3 separate regions of the Homo sapiens genome follow, and all the other regions are linked to region 2. Evidence: promoter capture Hi-C in human tissues and cell types (Jung and others, 2019). All regions are on one chromosome and are shown on one strand. Each heading gives the region's core, a stretch centred on a gene start or on the middle of the fragment in contact. The rest is flanking DNA. Distances are from core to core; before and after follow the strand shown. Region 1 overlaps CDC42 (cell division cycle 42). Region 2 holds the start of ZBTB40 (zinc finger and BTB domain containing 40). Region 3 holds the start of WNT4 (Wnt family member 4).

Region 1 (4,395 bases), core at 1,350-3,849, 350 kb after region 2:
GAAGTACCATTAGCTCCTCCAAGAGTTCTATGAGCTAAAAAGGCACTGGTTACGACTCTCAACCCCACAGTCATGATCCATAGATCACTGGTTACTACAAGGTAACAATTCCTTAGAACCTCTATCAGAAGAGAGCAGGACCAGGCTGGCATAAAAGAACACTGGCCTAAAAACAGAGGCCTGAAGTGTAGTCACCAAACAGCTGTACAACTCTAAGCAAATTGTTTTCCTTCCCAGAGACCATACCCTTATTTTAAAATGTAATGAATTATCACCCTTGGCCTATCCACCTCACAGACTGTGGGAATAAACTGAAAGAACGTGACACACTGTGCAAATGTAAAATCTTGGTCATTATTTTCAGGGAGGAAACACAGGCCTCACCACATTTCAGCACTAGCTGGGGTCTTATCCAGAAGGACTTGAGGGTTCATCAGAAAATACTACTGGGATTGCTTGACAGGTTTTTTGAACTGCATTCCTACCCATCTGAACTATTAAACACAGTCTACAGGAAATGCTTAATTCAAACATATTTGCCATTCGGGCTAGCTCTGTAAGTCTCAAGATCTCTAAGCAGCAAGCTTCCCTCAAGATAATCATACAACAGCTAACAATAATAACCAAACACTGTTGTAAGCACTTTACGCACATGAACTTGTCTAATCCTCATGAAACCCCGTGAGGTGATATTGTTACTATCCTCAAAAGAAAAACATCCAAGTTAAATATCTTGCCCAAGATCACACAGCCAGTAAACAGTGAACCCAAGATTCAAAACCAGGCAGTCTGGCTCTAGAGTCTATGTTTTTAATACTACTCTATACTGGCTCCTACAAAACAGACAAGATATAGATAAGCATTCCTGAAATGAATAAATGCCTAAACAAAAGTAAATCACAGTGACAAATTACCATTTTGTACCCACTACCATTATAAAATTGGCTGTTCTTCTATGAGAATTCCCTATCAGACAAAGCTTTGTCTATCCTCTTGTCCGAGTGCTTATTGGAGGAGAGTACCTTATCCCTAAATCCTAATGACAACTCTGCAGAATTGGCTCGATTTTACAGATGTGTAAATCAAGACTCAAAAACTAAAGCAGTTTGCCCAAACACAGCTAGTCATTAACAGAGCCAGATTCAAAGTTAGGGCCTTCTACTCCAAAATATATGTGCTTTTCCTACTATTTAATACAGTTTTTCTCTTTAAAATCAAAAAGTTCTACATAGAACTGGCACTAGAATGATTCCTGAAACATGAACAACAGGAAATATGCTATTTTATATAAATTGTAATGAAGAATGCCAGGATACTTACAAGAAGGGAAACAGATAAGTCTGTGTAAAGGGATCTAGTTTCACCACTGAATTATATTTATGCTTGGATCCTACTAGTATTCCCAAAAGGAAGTGATCCATAAGGTAGGAAAATATCCTGTCTGCCGCTGTTAAGAAGCCGTATTTGGCCAGGCCCAGTGGCTCACGCCTGTAATCCCAGCACTTTGAGAGGTCGAGGCGGGAGGATCACCTGAGGTTGGGAGTTCGAGACCAGCCTGACCAACATGGAGAAACCCCGTCTCTACTAAAAATACCAAAAAATGAGCTGGGCGTGGTGGCACATGCCTGTAATCCCAGCTACTCAGGAAGCTGAGGCAGGAGAACTGCTTGAACCTTCGAGGTGGAAGTTGCAGTGAGCCAAGATCACGCCATTGCACTCCAGCCTGGGCAACAAGAGCGGAACTTCGTCTCAAAAAAAAAAAGCAGCCGTATTTATCCTATAAACAAAAACCAACTCGGTCTTTACTGGTTACTGCTATACATTTTTTTTAAAACTACAGACTGAACCAAACTTAGAATCTCTCAACTATATCAGTAAAAATCTAAAAAGATTCTCCATATAGGGATAATAATCACAAAATTCTTGAAGACTCACTAGTCTACTTGTATATTTAGTATACAGGTTTTATAGATTTTTGTTAACTACCTGTCAATAGCTAGCAAAAAATCCTGAAACTTAAGAGGCTACAGAAATGAACCTGCACCAGTCGTGTTCAAATCCCTTGGCAACACCTTAGAGGTTACTAGGGCTGCACAAAGTTTATCTCTGTTTGCAACAAGGAGGCAGTGGGAAGAGTAAAGCTGCTGGGCCTGCATTAACTACAGCAACTCTGTTTCATACACCTTTTCTGTTTCTACAGTGGGGCTCTATATAAGCTTTTGTTTATGAAAAAGAAGGCCTACTGAAAAAAAGACACAAACCAAAAAGGAACAGAAACTCATTTTATTGAGATGAGGAAACCAAGGCCCAAAAAGGTATGGCAACTTGCCCAAGGAAACTCTGGTGCCTCAACTAGAACCTGGATCTTCAACTTCCAACTGAGAGCTCTTTCCAACAGTGTTATTACTACCATGGGAGAAATGAAGATATAGTATCAAACACCATAATGCAAGTTAGGAGCAAAAACAGGACTTGATTTATCACGCTATATGTACCAGGGTTCACGGAGTTTTCTAGCAGCAGAGGAGATAATCACAAACTCAGCACCCTCCAGTAAAGTCATTCTTACAAGAAGCCAGTGAAGAATTCACAGGTGCCTGCCCACCCTTCACAAGCTGCCAAGAGATGGACCTAACTCCTTAACACCAATAATTCCAATACAATTGTGAAATCCTCAAGTTATGGAGAAAAAGGAGCATTTCTTTAAGAGCTTCAGAATCAAGACAAAAAAAATCCCTCTCCCATCAAACTAGTGCAAACCTTACAAAGGAGGGCTAAGAAGCTAGCACTGGGGCCCCATGGTGGGTCTGGAACTCCATACACATTTCCAGCCCTATCAGAGTTGGTTAGAGATGAAATTAAAAGCCTTACTCTACTCCTGGCAATGAGTATGAGGAGGAAGCCCCTCACTGATACAGCAGTTTAAGACCCAGAAGTCAACAGGGTTTTCTGGTCCTGATTTGATGTGAGCCAACAATGATGACAGTGATGAAGACAGCTGCTATCTACCCCATTCACAGATGAGTACCTTCTACTTGCCAGGCACTATGCTAAGAACCTCACATATAGCAATTCATGTCACTCTCACAACTCTTGGGCAAAGTACAGCTATTTCCACTTCACAGAGAATGCAACACTCAGAGCATTTAAGTTACTTGCCTGAAGACATAGATCAAGTTAGTGGCAGAGCCAAACTCAAATCCAAAGCCTATGCATGTACTTCGCACAACACCAACAATGCCAAGTTGTTTCGCCTCAGTTTTACCATTTGACAAATGACATCATCCATCCCTGCCTCTTTTACAGAGTTGTACTGAGGTCAAGTGAAATCACTAATACAAACATGACTTGAAGTTTAGGAGTTTACTACTTAAACTCAAAAACTGCATGAGTATCCCTGACCGTTTGCAGAGAAGATGAAGGCAGAGCCCCAGTCATCTCCCTGTGCTTGGGTCAAGCTAATGAAAGAAGGGAGCCAGGTTGCAGAGCTGGCTCCAAGCCTCCCTCAGACCTTGGGTATTCACTAAGGTGCAACTTTCTCACCAAACAAACCCTGCTCTTCCCAACTCACAGGCCTATTATACAAAAAAAAAAAAAAAGAAGAAGAAGAAGAAGAAAGAAAAAAAGGCCAGCTGAGCAGACTCTAGAGACAGACTGCTTAAATTCAAATCCCAGTTCCCTCACTTACTAGCTCTGAATTCTTGGACAAGCTAGCTCTGAATTCTTGGACAAGCTTTGTATCATAACATGCCTCAGTTTCCACATATGAAAAAATGGGGGATTGCTGAGAAGACTGAGTTAATTCACACAAAGGCTTAAAAGAGTGCCATGTAGAGAATAAACACTCAAATTTTAAGAAGGACCAAATGACACAATGGGCAAAGGCACCCTACAATCCTCTAAAGCTACACCTTTAGATCCTCTAAAGGAAGAAGGTGTCATATTCTCTCATGCTACAACTGATCCTAAAGTCACCTCCCCCAAAAAGCTCCTACCCAACAAACCTACCCTTACAGATGAAGCCTTTTATGCTGCTTTGCTTGCCCTGTGCACTATATGATGCTTCAACTACGATTTTCAGCTTTGTAATTAATCATATACATTTTATTTCCACATAAGATATGTAATGGTAAGCACACAGTTTCCAAAATCAGACAGATAGGATTTCCAACTCTGGCTGCATATACCAAGCAATTATGATGTCTCAGAGTCCTGCTCCATAAAAAGAAGATACCTGTACTATCAACCTCAGAGCTGTTGTGAGTAGCAAGTGTGATAACACCATGTGCTTAACACAGTGCAAAGGCACACAGTAAGAGCTCAATTAACAAAGCTGTTATTTCGCCAGAATATGTCCCCATTTCTTTTATGATTCTCAGCAGTTAGGGCAGAGCC
Region 2 (4,812 bases), core at 1,950-4,449:
TCCTCTCCAAGCAGAAACACTAAGAAAAAACAAGATCTGCTCCCCTCTTTCTGGAGATAGAAAGTAGAGGGCTTCTATTTTTAATTGGATTCCCCCATTCTTAATTTTGTCTGTAATGTATTTCTGGATTTTTGTTATTAGTTAGCACTTTATAAAGTTTCCATTTGGAGCTAAATTTGGTTATTCAGCAATATGTGTAACAACAACAAAAAGAAAATACCATAGCTATGAATACAGTTTCTCTTATTTAATCTGCACAACCCTTTGAGGAGGCACCATTATCCACATTTTCCAGGTCAGATAACTAATCTGTAACTTGCCCTTGGGCGTGCAGTTCTCTCAGTAGTAGCTGGGTTCACGGCCAGGGACTGAGCACAGGAGTGAACCACAGCACAGTGACTCCCTTTGAGTTCTCCAACATCTCACGTTGTTACCCACCTTAGTCTCTGAACCTGCTGAAAAGTTCTTCCTCCCAGCTTCGTCTCTCCCTTTCCCCTTCTTGCTAGACTGGTTCCTTGTCACTCAACAAGTTTCAGCTTAAACTGCCTTTCTTAAGAGAGGTTTTCCCTGACCACCCAGATAAAAAGTGAGTCTCCCAGGTTAGTGTCTCTCTCCGTGCTGTTTTATTTCCTTTAGAGCAGTTGCCACAATTTGGAATAACTTTGTTATTTCTTTACTGTCTTGACACTAGGCTTTAGCTTCCAGAACAGAGCCCCAGGTCCATCTTGCTCACCCTGGTAATCACAGGACCTAGACAGTGGTGCTTGGTACATGGAGACACTAAAATATTTGTTCGAGGCCGGGCGCGATGGCTCACGCCTATAATCCCAGCACTTTGGGAGGCTGAGGCGGGCAGATCACTTGAGGTCAAGACTTCAAGACCAGCCTGAACAACATGGTGAAACTCTGTCTCTACTAAAAACACACAAAAAATTAGCCGGGTGTCGTGGCACATGCCTGTAGTCCCAGCCATTCAGGAGGTTGAGGCAGAAGAATCACTTGAACCCGGGAGGCGGAGGTTGCAGTGAGCCGAGATTGTGCCACTGCACTCCAGCCTGGGCAACACAGCGAGACTCTGTCTCAAAAAAATAAATAAAATAAAATAAAATAAAAATTTGTTCAATGAATGACCTAGATTTGTTTACTTGGTATTTACCTGCAAACACCAGGTTGTGGGTACTGGCTAGCAGCTGAGGATAACAACAGTAAGGTGTGGTCCCTGCCCTTAAGGACCTCCTAAGCTAGTAGGAAAGACAATAAACAGATGGAACAATACAGGGTGTTCAGTGTGATCAGATTAGCTTCAGCTCTCAGCTGAATGCCTTAGCTATGTAACCTCGAACATCTCTCCGACGTGAGTTTGTTTCCTCTATGCGTAAAATGGTAATATTAATACTACTTATGTCATAGTATTGGTGTGAGGATTAAGTGATAGTCCATATAAATAAAGCACTTAGCACAGTACCTGGCACAAAATAATCACTCAGTAAATAGCAACTAATAATTTTATTATGATGATGCTATTACAGCTGTATTTGAAATTATCTTTGTCTACCTGTATACCACTTGTCCAAGCCCCACATAGAATTTAAATTCCATGGAAGGGCAGAAATCATATTTGTCTTGTTCACCACTGTATTTCCAGGAATTTGAAACGTCTCTGGTACACAGTAAGTGCTCAACAAACACTAAATGATTAATGAATGCATGCGTACATGCATGGGGTGTTCTGAAACCATTTGTTAAACCACTAATGAATAGCTAAGTTTGGGGACTACTGACATAGAAGAAAAGTGTTTATATTAGAAAGGAGGGGCAGAAGTTTGATGATTTAGCTAAGTAGAAAAAAATTTCACTGAGATTGTAATTAAATCTCCATTAACCATACAAAGATCTGGGTACAATTCCAGGGAAGAACAAACAATTCCAGGTAGAAAAGACTTGAAAGAATAAAATCCAAAGCAGTTTGACCGGTGCCATCAGGCAGGGGGCTCCCAGGGACAGGCTCAATTTGGCAGCCCTATAACCTAGTACACCTATACATATATTAACCACTCAGAACAAATTTCTTCCTCGTTTGTAAAATGGAAATACCATACTTACTTATAAAGCGTCGTCATAAAGTAGAACAACACTTGTATGAATATAAATAAAGCACCTGGTTCATTGCAGCACTGGCTGCATGGTACCAACGCTATTCAAAGCAGGAGAAACTCTGAATAGTCAGTAAGACCAGAAGGGAAGCCAGAGTGTTCTGTCAACTAAAGTGCTCTCGGTGCATCGCGCAGTTTTAACTCTTTTCCCACTCCAGAAGAACCGACGAGAGGAATAGCTGAATGACAACACTGATCCAATCTCCTTGTGTTTAGGGCAGGGGTCAGTAAACTTTTGCTGTAAGGGACCAGACAGAAATATTTCTGGCTTTGTGAGCCAGCCGATCAAAGCCAAGCAACGGCTGCGCAACTACTCAGCTCTGCCCTCTTGGCAGGAAAGCAGCCATAGACAATACATCAACAATGAACAGGGCCGTGTTCCAATAAAACTTCATTTATGGACTTGATTTCATAGAACTTTCGCAAATTACATGAAATATTCTTCCCCCTAACCATTTGCAACTGTAAACAAAGACCGAGAGGGGAAGAGAGAAGGGGGGCATGGATTAGGCCCAAGGCCATAGTCCGCTGACGCCCGGCGAAGGGACCTGAAGGGAGGGGGAGTGAGACAGCGACAAGAGGCCTCCGGACGGGCCGAGAGGGAGGTGCGGGGCGACAGCGAGCCCCAGGCGGTGTCAGGTCGGGCCTGGCGCCCTGAGTGGGTCCCCGCGGTCTCTCCCCTCCGCAGTCTACAGCAGAGCCGGCGCCAGGGGTGCGGACCGCCCCTGGAGGGGGCACGTCCGGGGTGTAGGTGAGGCGGCCGTGATTCGGCCGAGTCCCGCGGAGTTCGCCACGCGGAAGGGTCTGTATACACCCCTCATTTAGGGCGCACCCGGGCCCCCGCTGCAGGAAGGGTCTCCACGCGGAGTCCCAGCCCCGTTTCTATGGTTACCTGTTCAGCACCGATTCAAACTGCCGTTCTTTATTGACAGCGCCATAGAGGACACGAACACTCCTGCCCGAAGGGAACAATAAAGCTTTCGCCATTCAACAGCGCCGGAGACGCCAGAAGGCGGCCATCTTGAGGCCGGCGCGCAATGGGTATCAGAGGGGAGGGGGCGGCCCGACCTGCCCCACGCGCCGCGGTCACGTGCTGGGGGCGGGGCCTGCGTCACGCGCTCGCTCTCCACCTATGCTAGGACGGCGGGGGCCGGCTGGTTGCTAGGCTCTTCTCTGACCTCTGACCTTGGCCACTCCCTCCTTCCCTCCCCACACTTCCTAAGTAAAGTTTTTTTCTTTTTTTTTTTTTTGAGATGGGAGATTCGCTCTTGTTTCCCAGGCTGGAGTGTAGCGGCGCGATCTCGCCCCACTGCAGCCTCCGCCTTCCAGGTTCAAGCGATTCTCCTGCCTCAGCCTCCCGAGTAGCTGGGATTACAGGCGCGCGCCACCACGCCCTGCTAATTTTTTTTTTCTCTTCTATTTTTAGTAGAGACAGGATGTCACCATGTTGGCCAGGCTGGTCCCGAACTCCTGAGCCCAGATGATCCACCTGCCTCGGCCTCCCACCATGCCCGGCCCTAAGGAAAGTTCTAATGGAGCTCCGCAGTCTCGCTCCGGCAGCTCTAGGATTAGGATTTTGTTTCAAAGGAGGGCAAGGAAGTGAACACAAAAGGCTTCGTTTTTCCAAAACAACACATTCACGTGCGAGGCGGAGAGGCGACCTGAGCCGCGTCCCCAGCCCGCACTCTTTGTGGGACAGGCTTGGCGCTGGTGGGGCGCAGTGGGCTGAAGGCATCCTGGAGGCATCCTGATCCTGCCTCTCGCACCTCCCAATTTTGGGATTTAGGGGCTTTGGGATTTAGTCCTAGCTTTTCTTTTGCTCATTTTCCTTCTCACACACTATGCGTTCCCTGTTGAAGCGTCCCCTTGCCACCCTTCCTTACACAAACATTTAAATCAGATCCAGCAGTAACAAACTGAGTCACCTCCGCGCTGGCCCACTGAACACAGTCACCCTGTCACTGACATGCAGCCACTTTTTCTGTCCCTGACAGTTACGTGCCCAAATCCAGCCATCTTAGTGCAATGTCCAGCTTCCTCTGTGGTTATACCTTTTCCATCTGCAATGTCAATATTCAGTCGTTCTGAGAGCTGTCTCTGGCTGACTGACTCACCCCATCACCGTTTTACATCACAAATTCAATCTACTGGGCAGAACTGTCACTTGCATTGTTGCTGTCTCCCGGTCGATCATATTTACTGTCACTGTCTGACATGCAGCTACCGTCATTGACCATAAACTTCAAACGGTTCTGTTCAAAATAGCACTTTGTTTGCCCAGCTGTTGCCCTTTCTGTTGTTTTCACTGTCATTGTCATGCAGCCACTTTTGCTGCCACACAGTCAAGCCAGTATTTAACAGGCCCCTTCAGGGTACACTGTTGTCCTCATACCCTTGTGCCCAGTTAGTCACTTTCACTATTATACTCATGTCACCGTTACATTCAGGGTCGGATTTACTGTAGCTGTTATTTAGTCACTTTTGTAGTAACTGGAACCACGCCTACAGCTGTTGTGTCTCCTAAGCCCTCATTTCCACCAGCCTCACATTCTCTTTTAGTGGGAACATAGGGTTGCTAGATTTAGCAAACAAACACCTAGAAGGGTGCTTGGCACATAGTAGGTGCTCTAGAAATATTTATCGAGTTAATGGGATTACA
Region 3 (4,763 bases), core at 626-3,125, 310 kb after region 2:
TGCCAGGACCTGCGTGGGTCTCTTCCGCAGATCCAGCCCGAGGACAGAGTACACCACTGGCGTGCCCAGCCCTAAGCCTGAGGGGCTACCAAGGGGCTGAGCTTGCATGTGCAGGCTGAGATGTTCATGAATGTGCACAAGACTCTCGAAGGACAGGACAGAGGCAGAGGTAGGAAAAGGTAGGGGGCAGGGGCCCAGGCCAGGCACTAGGGGCCCCCTCTCCCTGTGCCACCAGCTCCAGGGCAAGGTCTGAGGAGTATGAGAATGCCACACTCAAAGCCAGCTTTCTGCCTTGTTAGGAAAGTGTATTTGTCAAGATAGAAGAATAGAACATAATTTATTTTGCATTTTGTTAGCTTGATTTATAGCCTGCAAATATTTGGACATATGGTATGTGAACCTCCATCTATACTCTTGCCCAGCCCCACAAATCCCTGCCACGTTCCACCCAGTCCCAATACCAAATGTTTACTGAGCCCTTCCTCTGTTCTGAGCCCAGGGGACCCCAGGGCACCATCCCAGCACCCAAACATGATGGCCTCTGTGGGAGCAAACTTCATACTCCAAAATCAGTGAAGAACTAAGATCAGGGGGTGAGGGCATAGACCTGGTCCTTGCCTCTGTTCCCAACCCCTAGGGAGGTGGGACAGGTGCCTCCCTTTCCGGGCCTTAGTTTTACTGTTTAGATAAGAGGTCCCTCTACCTGTGAGCAGCTGGGGGATGCAGCCTGGAGGATGAGTAGCACACAGAATCAGATCAGTGACCTGAGAGGGTGTGGCGTGGACTTGGGCAGACAATTCTTAGGGGTTACAGTGATGTGGAATTGAGCTCTCTGGACTAGCCAAGCACAGGCTGTTGCAGCCCATTCCATTCCATTCATTTATTCCTTCCACAAACATGGCAGGCACCGCCCTGTGCCCAAAACAAACAAGAGGCTGAATCTGCCTAGTATGGGAGGATAAATCGAACAAGCACATAGAAAACCAAATGCAAAGTAAGACTTGGTGAGTGAGCCAAGAGAGCTTCCCTAAACTCCTCCTGTCCTCCCAATCACAGCGTCTTAAGCCCACTTCCCGGATGAGAAAACGGAGGCTCAGAGTCAAGACCCTGCTGCCTGGGGCGCGCCCAGACCTTGTGGCTAGCCAGAAGCGAGGTTTCGGATTCCCACAGTCTCGGGCCACTGTCCCAAGCTGCCCAAAGCTGGGGAGGCCCCGTCCAGCTCCCGGAAGGCTGTAGGGAGGTGAGCGCCAGGGAGGGGCTGGGCCGCAGGACGCGGGGGCCAGGAGGCAGGGAGGGGCCGGGCGGGGGGCGGTCGGGAGACATCCAGCGCCCCGATGTGCAGCCCCAGGCACCCGGAGCGCCAGCGCCTGGGTGCGCGCGAGTGGTAGCCGCGCTCCGGTGGGTCCGCCGCGGTCGGACCGGGGTCTGGGCTCCAGGCGCCGGCGGGGGGCGGTGGGGGGGGTAGGGGGACAGCGAGGGCCGCGCTGCAGTGCCCGCAGCGGCGGGTTGGGGGAGCTGTGCCCGCCTGTCCCCTAGGCCCGGGCGGCGGCCGGGCAGCTGGGTCGCCGCGCCTCTAGCCGGGCCGGGCTCGGCGGCGCGCAGCCAGGCGTGCCTGGAGCGGGCTCGGGCCCCAAGTCCTCCGGAGCGCCCAGCCGGGGAGGCCCCGGGAGCAGCCCAGTCCCGCGGGCTAAGGCGGCAGCCGCCGCCGCTCCGGCCCGCCCCCGGGGGGGTGTCCCGGGCCGCTGGGCCCGCCCAGGTAACCCCATCCTCGGCCCGCCCCCGGCCCGCCCCCCCGGCCGCCCGCCCGCCCGCCCGCCTCCGCCGCCGCCGCCGCCGCCGCCGCCGCCGCATCCCGGCTCTGGGGCGGCGCTGACAGTCTGGTCCGCGCCGGGCAGCGGGCGCAGCAGCGGGCAGGCTGCCGGCAGGCACACGGAGGCAGAGCCCCGCCGCGCGCGCCCCGGCCCGCCCGCGGGCGCCCACCTGCAGCCCCGACGGGAGGCCCCCCGCGGCCGCAGCCGCTGCCCCGGGCCGGGCGCCCGCGGCGGCACCATGAGTCCCCGCTCGTGCCTGCGTTCGCTGCGCCTCCTCGTCTTCGCCGTCTTCTCAGCCGCCGCGAGCAACTGGCTGTAAGTCTGGCCGGGGCCGAGCGGGGCGGGGCGGGGCGGGGCAGGCCCCGGGGGCAGCGGCCGGTGCCAGGCGGCGCGGGGCAGCGGGCGCGGGGCAGCCCGGCAGGTGTCTCGGCCGCGGGACCGGAGGCTCGCTCGCTCCGCTGCCGCCGCCACGGCCCGAACGTCCCTCTGCACACCCGGGGTCCCCTCCTGCCCGGGTCCGGCTCCCTGCCCAGAGGCGTCAGGGGTGGCTGTGGCGGCGTCCGCACCGGTAGGCGGCTCGGGGCTCTCGAGGGCGCCAGGGGTGCGAGCGCGGGGCGGTGGCCCGGGAGGGGCGCCGGACGCGGGTTGCAGTCCAGCCGGGCTGACAGGTCGCTGAGGAAGCCCATTGCAGGGAAGGGCTCCGGGACATAATAGCAGGTTAATCCCGAGAAGTCCGGAGCGAGCTCCCAGCGCCGAGCTGCGCCGAGCTGCGCCGCGCTGCGGGCTGGGCTGGAGGCGTGCAGGGACCTGTTTCTGCTTGGGGGGCGGGAGCCGGAGACAGAAGGAAGGGACCAGGACGCCTGGTCTCCCAGGGCCCGGGGCTGGCGCTGGCGCTGGCCGGGCCTTGGTTTTTCCCCGGGGCAGGAAGAAACTCCGTCCAGACCTTAAAGAAGACAACGGCCCCCCAGCTCCCCGTGTCTAGCCTAAGGAGGAAGGGGTGGTAACCGCTGGTGACCTGTCTGTTTCTCCTTGACTGGATCTGCGCTCAGGGCGCTCCCTGGGTAGGGGCGGAAGGTTTGCTGCAGGGAGGGAGACTAAAGGGATGAGCTCCAGTGAGTGGGTGGACAGGGAGCAAGCGGACCCGCGCTCCTTTCATCCCCGCTCAGGGACAGTTCCCCATGCCCCGCGCTTAACCCTGGCCCCAGTTCCTCCTGCCCAGAGCTCTGCCACCATCCGCTGTGGGCAGCCAGTGGGGAGCCAAGCTCCAATATTGATCTGAAAAGCATGGGGTGGGAAGGGGGATCGCCAACAGTGTAGCTGGGGTTTCCATGGAGACAGGGAGAGAGGAAAAAATTCTCTCTGCATCAAGACCAAAGAACAAATATCTCCCATGAAATTGCCCCGAGTGTCCAATGGCTGTTGCTATGAGGTCATTGTGGCCAGCCAGAGCCCTCCAGGCTGGAAGGAGTGTGTTCGTTGGGGTCAGAGCCACCCAGGGCTTGGGGGACGGAGGTGATGTGGAATTCTCCCAGCTGTTCCGAGAGCAAACGACTCCAAGGCAGCCCGAAGTGGCTGCGGAGCTTTTGTTTTTCTTGGAGCCTTAATTTGATTAACACTTCAGGAGCAGTGGCAGAGTGTACAGAAAGCAAGGCACCACCACCTTCTCCCACTGCCCCCCTGCAGGCCACCCCCTGAATGGAGCCTGGGTCACAGAGCTGGGGAGGGAGCTGATTTGGACTTGGAGGACCCTGGGTGTCCCTGGAGCTGGTTCTTGAATGCATGGGTTCAGAGCGGGGGCCTCCAAAACAGATCTGAGCATCAGAAGGAGCAAGAACTGTGTCTCACCTGCCCAGCACCGCCAAAGCCACAAAAAACAAACAAACAAACAAAAAACAAAGAAAAAAAAGTGGCAGTCCAAGCGTCTGGCCCAGGCCTACATGGAAGACAGCGACATCTGCAGTGGAAAGTCCTTCAGGAACATCTCATCTTTGACTCAGATGAGGAAACTGAGGCCTAGGGAGTGGAAGCTACTTGCCCAAACTCAGAGCTGAGAACTGAACCCAGGTGTTCTGACTCCCAGGCAGTGACCCTATACCCCCTTCCCTGAAGCTGTCCCAAAGTGGAGCCAGCATGGCCCGGTGGCATCACCACTCACCTTCACCCATGTCCACCCCCAGAATCCCAGCCAGGAAGGCAGCCTCGGCTTTGGATCATGCAAACTGTGGGGAATTCCAACAACTCAGTTCTCCTGCCTGTGCTGTTGGGGGTGGGGTGAGGAGGGGCAGCCTAGGAGAAGAGAGGTTGGCAAACCTGTTCTCTGCAACGGTGATGGTTCAGGTTGCCACGAAGCAGGTCTCTGGATGACCCAGCTCACTCCTGCTCCACCCCCGGCTTCAAGCCAAGGGTCTCTCTGCTCCACCCAAGGCAAGAGGAACAAGAGGCTTCCCAGGACCCTCCCAAACCAGAGAGGCTATGAAGGAGAAGACACTGGGCACATACCAAGGTTGGTCCAATATTTATCAACCTCTGTCGAACAATCAGCTGGCCAGGAATGGCAGCTCTGGGGGAAATGGATGTCACAGCCTGGCCTCCCACAAGCCTGGAGTCTAGGTAGAAAGACATGATAAAACCACGACTGGGTGGAACAGGGCACATGCTCTATGGCTGTCAGAGGAAAGAGCTGAGTGTGAGCCCGAGCAGGCACAGAGGGGGACTTGGTCTGAAGACTGTATGATCATGACAATAATAATTATTATGATGACTCCCACAGCATGATCTAAATCCCAACAACGTTTCAATCCCGTTACAGATGAGAAGATTGGGGATCGCAGAGGTAACTGCCCAAGTCACCCAGCTGGTAAATGCCAGAGGTGTCCGACTGAAAAGCTGCCTCTAGAAGGAAAAGCTTCGGGGAGGCAGGTGTCCATGCAGGCATGATGGCTGGCACTGTGT

What was found. The method cuts DNA at HindIII sites, captures the fragments that hold promoters and counts their contacts. A contact is called where the count stands out against the background at its distance.
Region 1: a fragment that was not itself captured here is called in contact with the fragment with the promoter of ZBTB40 in region 2 in 1 of the 25 tissues and cell types used here (heart left ventricle).
Region 3: a contact is called between the fragment with the promoter of WNT4 here and the fragment with the promoter of ZBTB40 in region 2, in 1 of the 25 tissues and cell types used here (H1 embryonic stem cells).

Annotation. Positions count from the first base shown.
Region 1 is chr1:22,099,234-22,103,628 of GRCh38, reverse strand. It overlaps CDC42 (cell division cycle 42), which reads right to left. Exons shown (of 6, transcript NM_001791.4): 6 at 2,269-4,395. Among named protein-coding and RNA genes, the nearest start is that of WNT4, 42 kb to the left of the region's middle. The HindIII fragment of the contact is 3,633 bases long and covers 783-4,395 here.
Region 2 is chr1:22,450,238-22,455,049 of GRCh38, reverse strand. ZBTB40 (zinc finger and BTB domain containing 40) reads right to left here and starts at 3,199. Exons shown (of 18, transcript NM_014870.4): 1 at 3,046-3,199. RefSeq lists silencers at 2,716-2,805, 3,146-3,345, 3,660-3,954 and enhancers at 2,916-2,995, 2,709-3,270. The HindIII fragment of the contact is 15,295 bases long and covers 1-4,812 here.
Region 3 is chr1:22,140,209-22,144,971 of GRCh38, reverse strand. It overlaps WNT4 (Wnt family member 4), which reads left to right and starts at 1,875. Exons shown (of 5, transcript NM_030761.5): 1 at 1,875-2,126. The coding sequence starts at 2,050. It overlaps LOC105376845 (a long non-coding RNA gene), which reads right to left and starts at 4,019. Exons shown (of 5, transcript XR_947050.1): 1 at 3,967-4,019. RefSeq lists silencers at 1,456-1,785, 2,348-2,407. The HindIII fragment of the contact is 15,863 bases long and covers 1-4,763 here.